Linked DNA regions of Homo sapiens: all the other regions are linked to region 1. Evidence: promoter capture Hi-C in 16 types of primary human blood cells and fetal thymus (Javierre and others, 2016). All regions are on one chromosome and are shown on one strand. The core of a region is centred on a gene start or on the middle of the fragment in contact, and the rest is flanking DNA. Distances in the headings are between cores, read along the strand shown. Region 1 holds the start of H3C6 (H3 clustered histone 6). Region 2 overlaps TRD-GTC2-6 (tRNA-Asp (anticodon GTC) 2-6). Region 3 has its middle 13 kb from the start of TRQ-CTG6-1. Region 4 has its middle 2.3 kb from the start of TRV-AAC1-5.

Evidence for each region. The method cuts DNA at HindIII sites, captures the fragments that hold promoters and counts their contacts. A CHiCAGO score of 5 or more calls a contact.
Region 2: a contact is called between a fragment that was not itself captured here and the fragment with the promoter of H3C6 in region 1, in 1 of 17 cell types (naive CD8 T cells). The highest score is 6.0, in naive CD8 T cells.
Region 3: a fragment that was not itself captured here is called in contact with the fragment with the promoter of H3C6 in region 1 in 1 of 17 cell types (M2 macrophages); the score reaches 6.9 in M2 macrophages.
Region 4: a fragment that was not itself captured here is called in contact with the fragment with the promoter of H3C6 in region 1 in 1 of 17 cell types (monocytes); the score reaches 5.1 in monocytes.

What each region holds. Positions count from the first base shown.
Region 1 is chr6:26,223,703-26,226,402 of GRCh38, reverse strand. H3C6 (H3 clustered histone 6) reads right to left here and starts at 1,268. Exons shown (of 1, transcript NM_003532.3): 1 at 787-1,268. The coding sequence starts at 1,248. The coding sequence ends at 838. RefSeq lists enhancers at 26-641, 642-1,258. The HindIII fragment of the contact is 11,157 bases long and covers 1-2,700 here.
Region 2 is chr6:27,479,684-27,482,386 of GRCh38, reverse strand. It overlaps TRD-GTC2-6 (tRNA-Asp (anticodon GTC) 2-6), which reads right to left; the gene lies at 2,642-2,703. Among named protein-coding and RNA genes, the nearest start is that of TRD-GTC2-6, 1.4 kb to the right of the region's middle. RefSeq lists a silencer at 2,601-2,660. The HindIII fragment of the contact is 3,440 bases long and covers 1-2,703 here.
Region 3 is chr6:27,776,842-27,779,541 of GRCh38, reverse strand. No RefSeq gene overlaps it. Among named protein-coding and RNA genes, the nearest start is that of TRQ-CTG6-1, 13 kb to the left of the region's middle. RefSeq lists a silencer at 1,600-1,659. The HindIII fragment of the contact is 2,981 bases long and covers 1-2,700 here.
Region 4 is chr6:27,754,396-27,757,095 of GRCh38, reverse strand. No RefSeq gene overlaps it. Among named protein-coding and RNA genes, the nearest start is that of TRV-AAC1-5, 2.3 kb to the right of the region's middle. The HindIII fragment of the contact is 1,871 bases long and covers 326-2,196 here.

The DNA.
Region 1 (2,700 bases), core at 19-2,518:
AATAAATAAATAAATAAATAAATAAATAAATAAATAAATAAGAAAAGAAAAAAGCAAACAAAAGATATCAACTGGAAAGTTGAAAAGGCTCATGATTTCTGCATTTTCCTTTCGCACTCAGGTTTGAGACACACCCATCTGCACCTTCGTTGCTTTGACTCCTGCAGTTTAGAACCTATGCAAGGCTGTCAAGTCTGCAAGAGCTGTGTGTTAGTGCCACGGGTCTAGGTGTTCCAGCTAATAACCTTAGCCTTAGACCAGTATCAGGCGCACAGAGAGTAACGTTGACCGCACCCAAGGCACCGACCGTCGCCGGCAAGTAGCTGGGTCTCAAAACACTAGTGGAGTAAGGCAGCCTGATGCAGATCAAAAGCGCTGGCCCCTCGGGCAAGGTCAAATAAACATCAAGGAAAGGCAAAACCAAGGCGTTGAAAGCCTATGCAGTTAAGACCTAAAATGCAGGCCACCACATGAAAGAGCGTTGAGCCAGAAAACAAGAGGATGGGTTAAGCAGGGTACAATTAAGTGGCCAGGAGTTTAGAAAACGAGAACAATGTACAAGAAAGCAGCAGAGGGCCTGAACAGCAAAACAAAGCCAGCTAAACCAATGGAGAACAGCGTAGGGAGGCCCAGCCCTAGGCGAAAACCTGAGGGAGCGCTTAAATTTGGAAATTTAAATGAAGCATCGAGGGAACTGAATGCCACTATTTCAAATGTCTATTTGGATCAGTGCAGTTTAGTGGTCTAATGCGTCTCAAAGGATTACAGCCCTTTTCACGGACAAAGTGGTTGGCTCTGAGAAGAGCCTTTGGATTTAAGGTTTGTACTCAAAACAATTCACGCCCTCTCCCCACGAATGCGGCGGGCAAGCTGGATGTCTTTAGGCATGATGGTCACGCGTTTGGCATGAATAGCGCACAGGTTGGTGTCCTCGAAAAGCCCCACCAAGTAGGCCTCGCAGGCCTCCTGCAGCGCCATCACCGCGGAACTCTGGAAGCGCAGGTCGGTCTTGAAGTCCTGAGCTATTTCTCGCACCAGGCGCTGAAACGGCAGCTTCCGGATTAGAAGCTCGGTAGACTTCTGGTAGCGACGGATCTCGCGCAGAGCCACGGTGCCAGGGCGGTAGCGATGGGGCTTCTTCACGCCGCCCGTGGCCGGAGCGCTCTTGCGAGCTGCCTTAGTGGCCAGCTGTTTGCGCGGTGCTTTACCGCCTGTGGATTTACGAGCCGTCTGCTTAGTACGCGCCATAGTTCATCTGCAAAGTAAATGAGTTAGGAAGATTGGTTTGCCCCTCTATATAGGAACAGAATCACTCTGATTGGATTGTGGACGATCCCTGTTAGTGATCGGTTGCTAAATTCCGGAAGTGGCCGTAGAGATTCACGATTGGTTTATTTTTTCAGTGCAAGATTCTGATTGGTAAATTTGGATAGAGAACTGGCTCTTTCAAACAAGTCGTTTTCCGTTACAGGTTTCTTTGATGTTTCACGTAGACCATGACCTGCAAAGACATTGATCATTTAACTTAATAGACTGATCTGTTATCCTGTTTAGCTATAAAAAATCGAATGTGTTTGCGTTAGAAAGTGCTTTAGAATTTTTTTTCCAAAATCTCCGCTGCTTTTTTCTGCATTTTCCTGAAGTTTTTCCCTTCCTTATTCACTCATTTAAAATCCGTTGCCTAAGTATCTCTCAATGATTCCTCGTTTCATTATAGAGTACAAGGCTAATTCACTCAAACAAGGTTTTCTAAGATACACTGTTAAGCATAAGGAACTTTGTGTTTCATTTGTGTTATAGTAAAATTCTAATATCCTGGAATCCCTACCTCTGTAATATCGGGTTTGACTCAAAGAACTTAACACTATTATTTCGTTTTGTTGAAATTAAAACGTCCAGACATAATGGCAAGAGCCGTCAAAAAAAGTATTTTCAATTTAAAATCTTGAAAAAGATGGCGGCGAAGAGAGTGTTAGAAGGTTGTTTCTCTGTAAGACAACAATGGCGCAGTTTCTCCGGATCCCTGCGGGAGAGAGCTGAGGTGCACCGAACAATTTAAGACACATCCAACAGAACTTTTATAGGAACTGGACTCACCCAAATAACAGGACTTCTTAACTTGGTTTTCGCTTCCACACTCAACAGCTCCCAATTACTTTGAAAAAGTAACAAATGTTTACTGGAAAAGATTCTTAAAGAATGACATTACAGCCTAACACTATTGTGAATTAACCTATCGGATTCCCTGTAAGGTGTTCTTTTCCTAGCCAATAAAAAGAGCAGTTTGGGAATTCCTAATTTACATACTTTTAATCTATTGGCTACTTTGGTTCAGGCAGAGTTTTGATTTACAAGTTCGCGTTTGTGTAAGCGTACTATAAATATTTCAGAGAGGGATAGTGCGCGTGCGTGCCCGTTGCAAGGTCTAGTTTCTTTTTGTTTTTCTTTCCCAGTAGGTTTTCTTTCTCATTGGAAAGCTATTTTGTAAAGTGTAGCAGGTTCGCAATGACGCTGGCATGTAGTCCAAGGCGATTGACATCATGAATATGCTGGAGCCCCCGTCCTCCAGGGAGGGGAAACGGCTAAACCAAATTTATCACTGCCCGCAAATGCCCGCGGATGTCTGCAAGCTGGAGTGGAGAGGAGACAAAGGATGCTTTGTGCATTCCTGCTCATTCCCTGAATTCTGTTAAACCTGCC
Region 2 (2,703 bases), core at 169-2,668, 1.3 Mb before region 1:
AGAATTTATAATACAAATTTGAGATCTTTCTCTGTGGTTCCCTCATCACTTGAATTTTGACCATCAAGTTCTATGCACGTTGGTAGCCCCAAACTCTGACCAGTATCTCCTTAGTCCAGCACAACTGCCTCTTTCCACATGAGGTCTATTCCACAATGGTGCAATACGGGACACACCTTCAGGAGGAAAGCACTTTCAAATGTGCAAACTCATATAATGTGCTTCCCTTCTCTCAAGGATTGTAGTTTGTCAAGCCTTGCCTGGGTTGACAGCTTATCAGTGCCTTCAAACAGTTGCTTTAAGTCGGGCTTGGTGGCTCACACCTGTAATCCCAGCATTTTGGGAGGCTGAGGCAGGTAGATCACGAGGTCAGGAGTTCAAGACCAGCCTGGCCAACGTGGTGAAACCCTGTCTCTACTCAAAATACACGCCTGCAATCCCAGCTACTCGGGAGGCTGAGCCAGGAGAATGGCTCGAACTCAGGAGGCAGAGGTTGTGGTGAGCCAAGATTGCGCCATTGCACAGCAGCTTGGGCGATAGAGCGAGACTCTGTCTCAAAAAAAAAAAAAAGCCAGAAACAAACAAACAAACAAAACAATTGCTTTATAGTTCTTATCCACGATGAATCATTTTTCTTCTAGATTAAAAAAGAAATAATAGATTAAAAGGAAGTAATAGAGACAAACGAGATTCAATGTTAGGTGAAAAGGATGAGGCATCAATCACTCTACTGTTCAATAGTGTTAACGAAAAAAAGAATCCATTGGCTGAAAGTGTTGCACAATAATATTAACTTTTAAATTTGATGGCCAAAATTTCATGACAAAAATGTTAATAATAATTATTTTTCTTTTTTTTTTTTTTGGAGACAGAGTCTTGCTCTGTCGCCCAGGCTGGAGTGCAATGCTGCAATCTTGGTTCACTGCAACCTCCGCCTCCCGGGTTCAAGTGATTCTCCTGCCTCAGCCTCCGAGTAGCTGGGATTACAGGTGCCCGCCACCACACCCAGCTAATTTTTGTATTTTTAGTAGAGATGGGGTTTCAGCAGGTTGGCCAGGCTGGTATCGAACTCCAGACCTCAGGTGATCCACCCGCCTCAGCCTCCCAAAGTGCTTGGATTAGAGGCATGAGCCACCTCGCCTGGCCAATAAGTATTTTTAAAACAAAATCAGACATATTGTTATATGCTGGAAGAGTATTCTTTCATTAAAGAAGCAATGCTGTTGGCTTTGATTATGGCTCACAAAAATATTGCTTTTAATATTCATCCATTCAGCGTTGGTCGAGGGTATATACTAGGTACACTTCTAATTCCTACCTTATTATAAAGGAGCTTAGAATGATTTGGATTTCGCCATACCTTTCCATTTTATATTGTCGTTGCTGTTTTGAAATTTAGTACCATTTGTTTTCATATTCCAACATGTAATCATTACGAAACAATGTTGTTTCAGGCATTCACTCTTTATGTAGCTTTTGTCACATGTTATGAATTTTCTTGCTCACTTATAACATTTTGAATCCCACTCCTTCATCAGTTCTAAATTCCTATTCATTAATGTAGTCGTCACTCTTGTCATATGCATTGTTCAAAATTGTATATTTGCCCTTTTACATTTTAATTCGTATATTTTCATTTATAGTTTTATTAGGCTTTTCTCCTTTTAACTTTCCATTCTGAAATTATTTTAGACTGACAGACACAGTACATGAATAATACAGATAATTCCTGAGCACCCTTCACCCCAATTCCCTCAATATTAGCACATTAAGGATATTCCTATATTTTCTTTTCCTTCTCTCTCTCATATATATACATAAATGTATATTTCTGAACTATTTGACAGTGAGTTTGAAGACACATACCTCCCCTTACCCTTAAATACGTATTTTGTAAATAGGTGTGAATTTTCTTAAAGACATTTTGTTCTATAACCATAGAACAATTAATACAATCAGGAATTCACATTCATAATATTATAAAATCTATAGACTTTATTGAGATTTCACCAACTATTTCAATAATGTCCTTTAAGATAAAAATTCCAGACCATATGTTGCTGTCATATCTTTAAGATCTTCTATAATGTGGACTATTTAGTCAGCCTTTCTTTGTGTTCTGTAACTTTGTTATTTTATTTATTTGTTTATTTATTTATTTATTTATTTATTTATTTTTCCTCCCTGCTTGCCTGTTACTAGGTTGATGCAAAAGTAATTGCAGTTTTTGAGGCGTACAAGTCAGTTATTTTGTTAAAATCTCCCTCAATATGGGTTTGTCTGATGTTTTCTGATTTAGATTACATATTTTTGCCAAGAATACCACAAAAGTGACGTTGTGCTCTCATGAGCACATCCTGTAAAAAAGGTATATAATGTAGATTCGTCCCAATACTGATTCAATCACTTGGGTAAGATGGTATCTACCCGGTTTCTCCACTGTGATGGAGATTACAGTGCAGAGTGGAAATTTTCTTGCTATTACAGAACCTCATGATTTCTACAGCTTATGGTTTTTGCGATCAGTATTTCGTTGGTTTGAAAGAACTCTGCTAAAGAAAAAGAGAACCCAACATTTGCCCAGAAGACTAGAGACTGTGTTTACCGGAAGTGTGCTTTTCTAAAAAAAAGTTTAAGCCTCCTCCCCGTCGGGGAATCGAACCCCGGTCTCCCGCGTGACAGGCGGGGATACTCACCACTATA
Region 3 (2,700 bases), core at 98-2,597, 1.6 Mb before region 1:
TTTGGTTGTTTCTGCAGTTTACAATAACTTAACATAACTATAATTAATAGCTTATACTATTTTAGAAATCCCATACAATTTTGAAATATATATTAGTATTATTCACAAAAATATAGCCTAAAGAAGATTGAGCATCATTTTGGCAATCCCATGTACCTAAACGTGTCAAATAATCCTGTTTACCTGTCTTTTCTGGACACTTCAGGGGCCCGCTGAAGTATTCAAAAAGCCAGGTGCCAGGGAAGAGATTTTTGAAACCGATGTTTGATTTTGGGAATTCCAGATTGCTATAAGTTATTTATTTTGCCAAAACGATGACTCAGAAATTTTAAAGAAGCAAAGACCTTTTATAACCCTTTTGTATTTAGTCAACATGTTCACACAGAGAACCTCTTCCGTTAAAAAAAAAAAAAGTAAAACATTCACATGCTTTCAAAAGTTAAAGGTATAACAAAAGGTAAACTCAGAGAAGTGGCGTCCCATGTCCCTTACACTCCATTTCCCCCAAGTCTCTTACCACCATTTTAGGTAGCCAGATTCACTGTTTTCTGGTTTATCTTCACTATGTTTTCTTTTCAGAAAGAAAAACAGGTATGTGTATGTTTTCTTAATTCCCCTTCCTTCTTGAAAAAAGGTAGCCTACTATAATATTCATCTGCACTTTCTTTACTTAACACTATCTCCTAGAAATTATATCTTTTTTGTAGCCCCATAGCGCTTCCTCTTTGAGTCCATGTTACAGTTTATTCAACCAATCTCTTATGCCTGGACATTTAAAGTTAGTTAAAATGCTTCTAGAAGGTAAGCAGACAAAATAAAGATTATTGGTCTTCTGAGTTTGCCCATGGAATTCTGATTCACAAAATGCTTTAAATGTACCCCTATGTTTTCTACCATTTACATTTTTTAAAAAAATCTATCCAAGTAGAATCAACCATTTTACACTTAACTTCATTGTTGCTTCTCTTTCTCATAACATTCCATGTGTCTAGTTTCTGTAAGTATGGAAGGAGGAGGGTATAAATGATGTCTTTTGGCCATCGTAACAGATAGCTTTAGAGAAGAATTCACAGTACACGAAATGAATTTAATAAATCATGCATAGAGATGAACAAAAGAGCAAAAGAAGCAGGAGGCTCCCGTAGAAGCAAAAAGACAATAACGATTTACAATAACCAATGGTCTCAGGCAAAAGTCAGTAACAGTGTTTTGCCTTCGAGTGCAAGAAAATATAAAATTATATTCAACCTCAGTGTATTTTCTATTCACTGGAAGATAGGTAATTTGTTGGAAGTAAACATGAGAATTGTCACCTCCTCTTCCCAAGTAAGATATGCCTTTCCAAATAAGATATGAGTAAGAAAGGAGTTACGCAAACATTTGGAGAAAGGAGAAGGAACATGCTGAAGACATATCTAAAAGTGAGATACAGCCTCTGAAAGGACTTTTAAGAGAGAGAGAGCGAGAGAGAGAGAGAGATATAATATATATAATATATATTTAGAGGCCATCTTCTCCCCACAACTGTGGAAGGTAATTCCTCAAGAAGGGGGGGGGGAAAAAAAAAAAAAAAAGCACCCTTCTTTAGCAGAGGATGGTTTAGATCCATCGACCTCTGGGTTATGGGCCCAGCACGCTTCCGCTGCGCCACTCTGCTAACGGAAAACACGCTTCTACTCTTCTTATTTATCATGCAGGTGATCAGCCATTTTGTTGTTGTTGTTGTTGTTGTTGTTACACTGTTTTGCCTCTTTCTGTTTTTCTTTCACTGTTTCTTTCCCGGTTTTTCTTTTTTCCTCTTGGCCTCTTAAGATCAGCTCACTCTAGAACCAGTTGATTCCAACAATCCCCTTCAAGTTGCGAGTTGCCCTTTCCAAATCTACCAAACATGCTTCAAAACCTGACATTTCTTTCTTTAAGAGCTGCTTTGGGCTCAGGAGCAGAAACAGGAGAAAAGTCAAGCAAAGCCCTCAGAAGCCCTTAGAGAGAATCGAGGAAGGCATTAAGTCAGACTACTCTCCTTAGAGAGAAAGTATATTAGCCAGTTCGCTTGTTTCCTGTCCCCAATAAAATTTCTTTCCCAACACTAGAAGTATTTTTGCGTATTGACCTAGAAGTATTTTTGCATATTGACCTAACGCCTTTTGCAGCTTTCCGGGCGCCTGGTGTACCCACGCAGCCCCACCTTATCCCCACCCCTATCCCTGCCGTTGAATTCATAAAAAGGGGCTTCCTACCCTAACCCTTTGGTGTTATGTCTGCGGACAGCTTTCACTTTCAGCGAATGTGGGCTTTCCCAGCCAAGGGCCCAAACAGAGACCTTTGATACTCCTTCATCCTGTGCTATGTCAAGAAAGTCCCTTCTGAAACTTTTATTTTGCTCTTTTCACCAACTTGCTTTTCCCGTTTTCTCAGAGTTTCTCTGTCTTCAGGAAAGCCTTGTGTTTCCAGTTCCAGGTCAGGCATAGGATTGGTGGCCATTACTCTCCACCAATTTCATTTACGTTTTCTTTCTTTTTTTTTTTTTTTCCTTTTCTAAAAAGACAGGGTGAGACACTGAGGCAGATATACTGGGGTTAGGAAGATATCCCAGAATAAGAGCATGAGAAAGCAGGCTGGAATGGTTCATGTGGACAAGATGAGTCCTAAGCAAAACTGAACCAGGTCCCACCAGGACCTGACGTGGGGCCACTAGATTTG
Region 4 (2,700 bases), core at 12-2,511, 1.5 Mb before region 1:
ATAGTGTCCTCCTCCACACATACAAGGATGAAGTTTTGTTTTTTAAGATGAAACAAATTTGTCATTAATGAAAGGATTGTCAAAATCTTCCCAAAGGTCCTCAGCTTCTGAATCACCTGGAAGCTTCTAAAAATTAAGACTTGTGGGCCATACCAGAGACCCTCTGCACTAGAAGGGGGTATGGCAAGGAATCTTAGGAATAGTCCACCTGGAGAATCACTAGCGTAAGTTCTGGGCCTCACATTCCCTCAGAAGAGTCCCATGAACCTGTGGTCAGCAGCTTAGGGCTGGTCTTCTTTACTGATCTGAGGGACAATGGGAAGCTTAGGACTCCCTGCATGGCATCTCTCCCGCCCAGGGGAGAACAGCTCAACAAATTTCCTCATTAACTACAAAGTTAAATGGAAGCATATGCTATGAAAATGCCACAAAAAGCTGTTGCTAGATGAAAATGTCTAAATTTGCTTTAAATTATCATGGGGGCTTGGCAGAGGGAGGAGAGACTAATTGTTGAAGTAGGATCATGGAAATAAGGAGGTCCATAATATTCTCTATAATCTTTTTTTGTCATAAACAGGGGTTTATAAAACTACCTAGTATAGCATGGTGGTCAAGAACACCAGTTCTGGAGACAAACACACCTGGTGGTGTCCTTTCCTAGCTAGCATAACCTCAGCACATTGTTCAAGCCTTAACTTGCTCAAATGTAAACCCGAAATGACAGGGATAGATCTTGACTCAGGAGGCTTGACAAGGCTAAAAGTAATACTAAAAATAAAAGCAGTAACTACTTCTGTAAGTTGAGCACTGTCTGAAACACTTCAGGGAGTTTTTCTTAATTGAGTTTATGATAATTCTATGAGGTACACACTGTATCCATATCCATTTTACCAGCACAGACAGAGTCATGAAGAAGCCAAATAGCTTGCCTGAAACCCTACATATGATGAGAAAGTGGCAGAGGAAGGAATTGTACTCAGATATTTTGGCTCCAAAGATCCCTGCCAGATCTGCCCTGCCAGTTCATAAGGACTAAGAAGATGCCTCCTCTCTATACTACCATCCAAATGCTTCGCAATCTGTACGTCTGTTGCTCCACTTTTTGCTTATGGCATATTGGCTGCTCATGTTCCTCTTTCTTCTCCTTGAGAGTTAGGATTGTGTAATCTTGTCCTGCATGCCTCTGGTACTCCTAGTGACAACATAGGGTCACAATTGTCTGGCACATTGTTTGTAGCTCAATAATTTATTTTTCTTTTTAAAAAAATTTGAAATGGGGATCTCGCAATGTTGCCCAGGCTGTCTCGAACTCATGGCTCAAGTGATCATCCCGCCTAAGCCTCCCAAAGTGCTAGAATTACAGGCATGAGCCACTGTGCCCAGCCAATAATTTATTTTAATTAATATGAAATAAATGTGTTTACAACAATTTTTTTTAAATTAGAGATGGAGTCTCCCTATATTGCCCAGGCTGGAGGGCAGTGGCTTTTCACAGACACAATCATTGCACATGCAACCTCAAACTCCTGGGCTCAAGTGATCTTCCTGATTTACTTCGTCTCCAGAGTAACTAGAACTACAGGTACACCACTATGTCCAGTTTAACAATATTTTTTATCTTTTTTCTTTCTTTTTTTCTTTAACAATATTTTTAATGATCATTGTTGCTGCTAATCTGGTCTTGATTTGTTAATTGGGAAATACAGTCTAATTTGTTAATTGGGAATTACAGTCTTTCTTTCAGTTGTTACCCACAGCATTCCAATTATTCATGATCCAGCTACTACCAGCTCACATGATCTCAAGGTGAGAAGGGGCTCTCTGTTCCTGGCACCCATGGAAGAAAGAATACTAAGTAGAGGAAAAAGTAAGCACAGACTTTCTCCAGACTGGTCTGGCAGCCCAACCACCACCTCTAAGCACAGAGAGTGTGTGGTGTTTATATGCAAAGTGAAGTTATAAGGAGGAATCTGGAAGAAGGCAGCTTGCTTCTAGGTGTGCAGTGAAAGTAGATAGAGGAAGACAGTGAAAAGGGAGAGAAGAACAAAGAAAAGAAAAAAATACACGAGCGTTTTATCCTCCTTTTCTAAATCAAATAGCATTGAACTGTCACATTCCAGAGAAATAATTATTTGTGACATAGAATCCAATCTTGTAACCTTGTACCTGTTCCCCAGTATATCTCATCCTGAAGCTTACCTGCTCTGTAACAAATGCTAATAGTCCCAAGAGCTCAGTCTTACAGGTCCGGGTTCCTAAAAGGGTCATTTTCTGGCACTAGAAAGATGAAGATCAGAACAAGTTGCATGGATAAGATAAGGACACTATGGTAGAATTTTTTTAAAAAAATCAAATCATCTGCTCTCTACTTCTCTATCTACTTGAGGTTTTCTTGCCTGGCATTTGCAAAGAAATTGGGGCTCATGGGTGAATACTTGGATTGCTAAAATGATAAAGTTTGGCTGTTGGTTTTAGTACACTAAAAGTACAAGGGCAAGAAACGTACCACCACTGTGAGAGTTTCTGGGAAGAAAGGGCAGCTTTGAGATTATAGAACCTGGGGCATCTGGAAAAACTGTATTTTTTTTTTCCTGTAGAAGAGACATGGGACCAAAGGCAAGTTTTACTGGTATTGTGGTTATCACATTTGCCCAATACAGTAAAGACCCTTGGTTTGAAACTCAGTAAGATTTATTATTA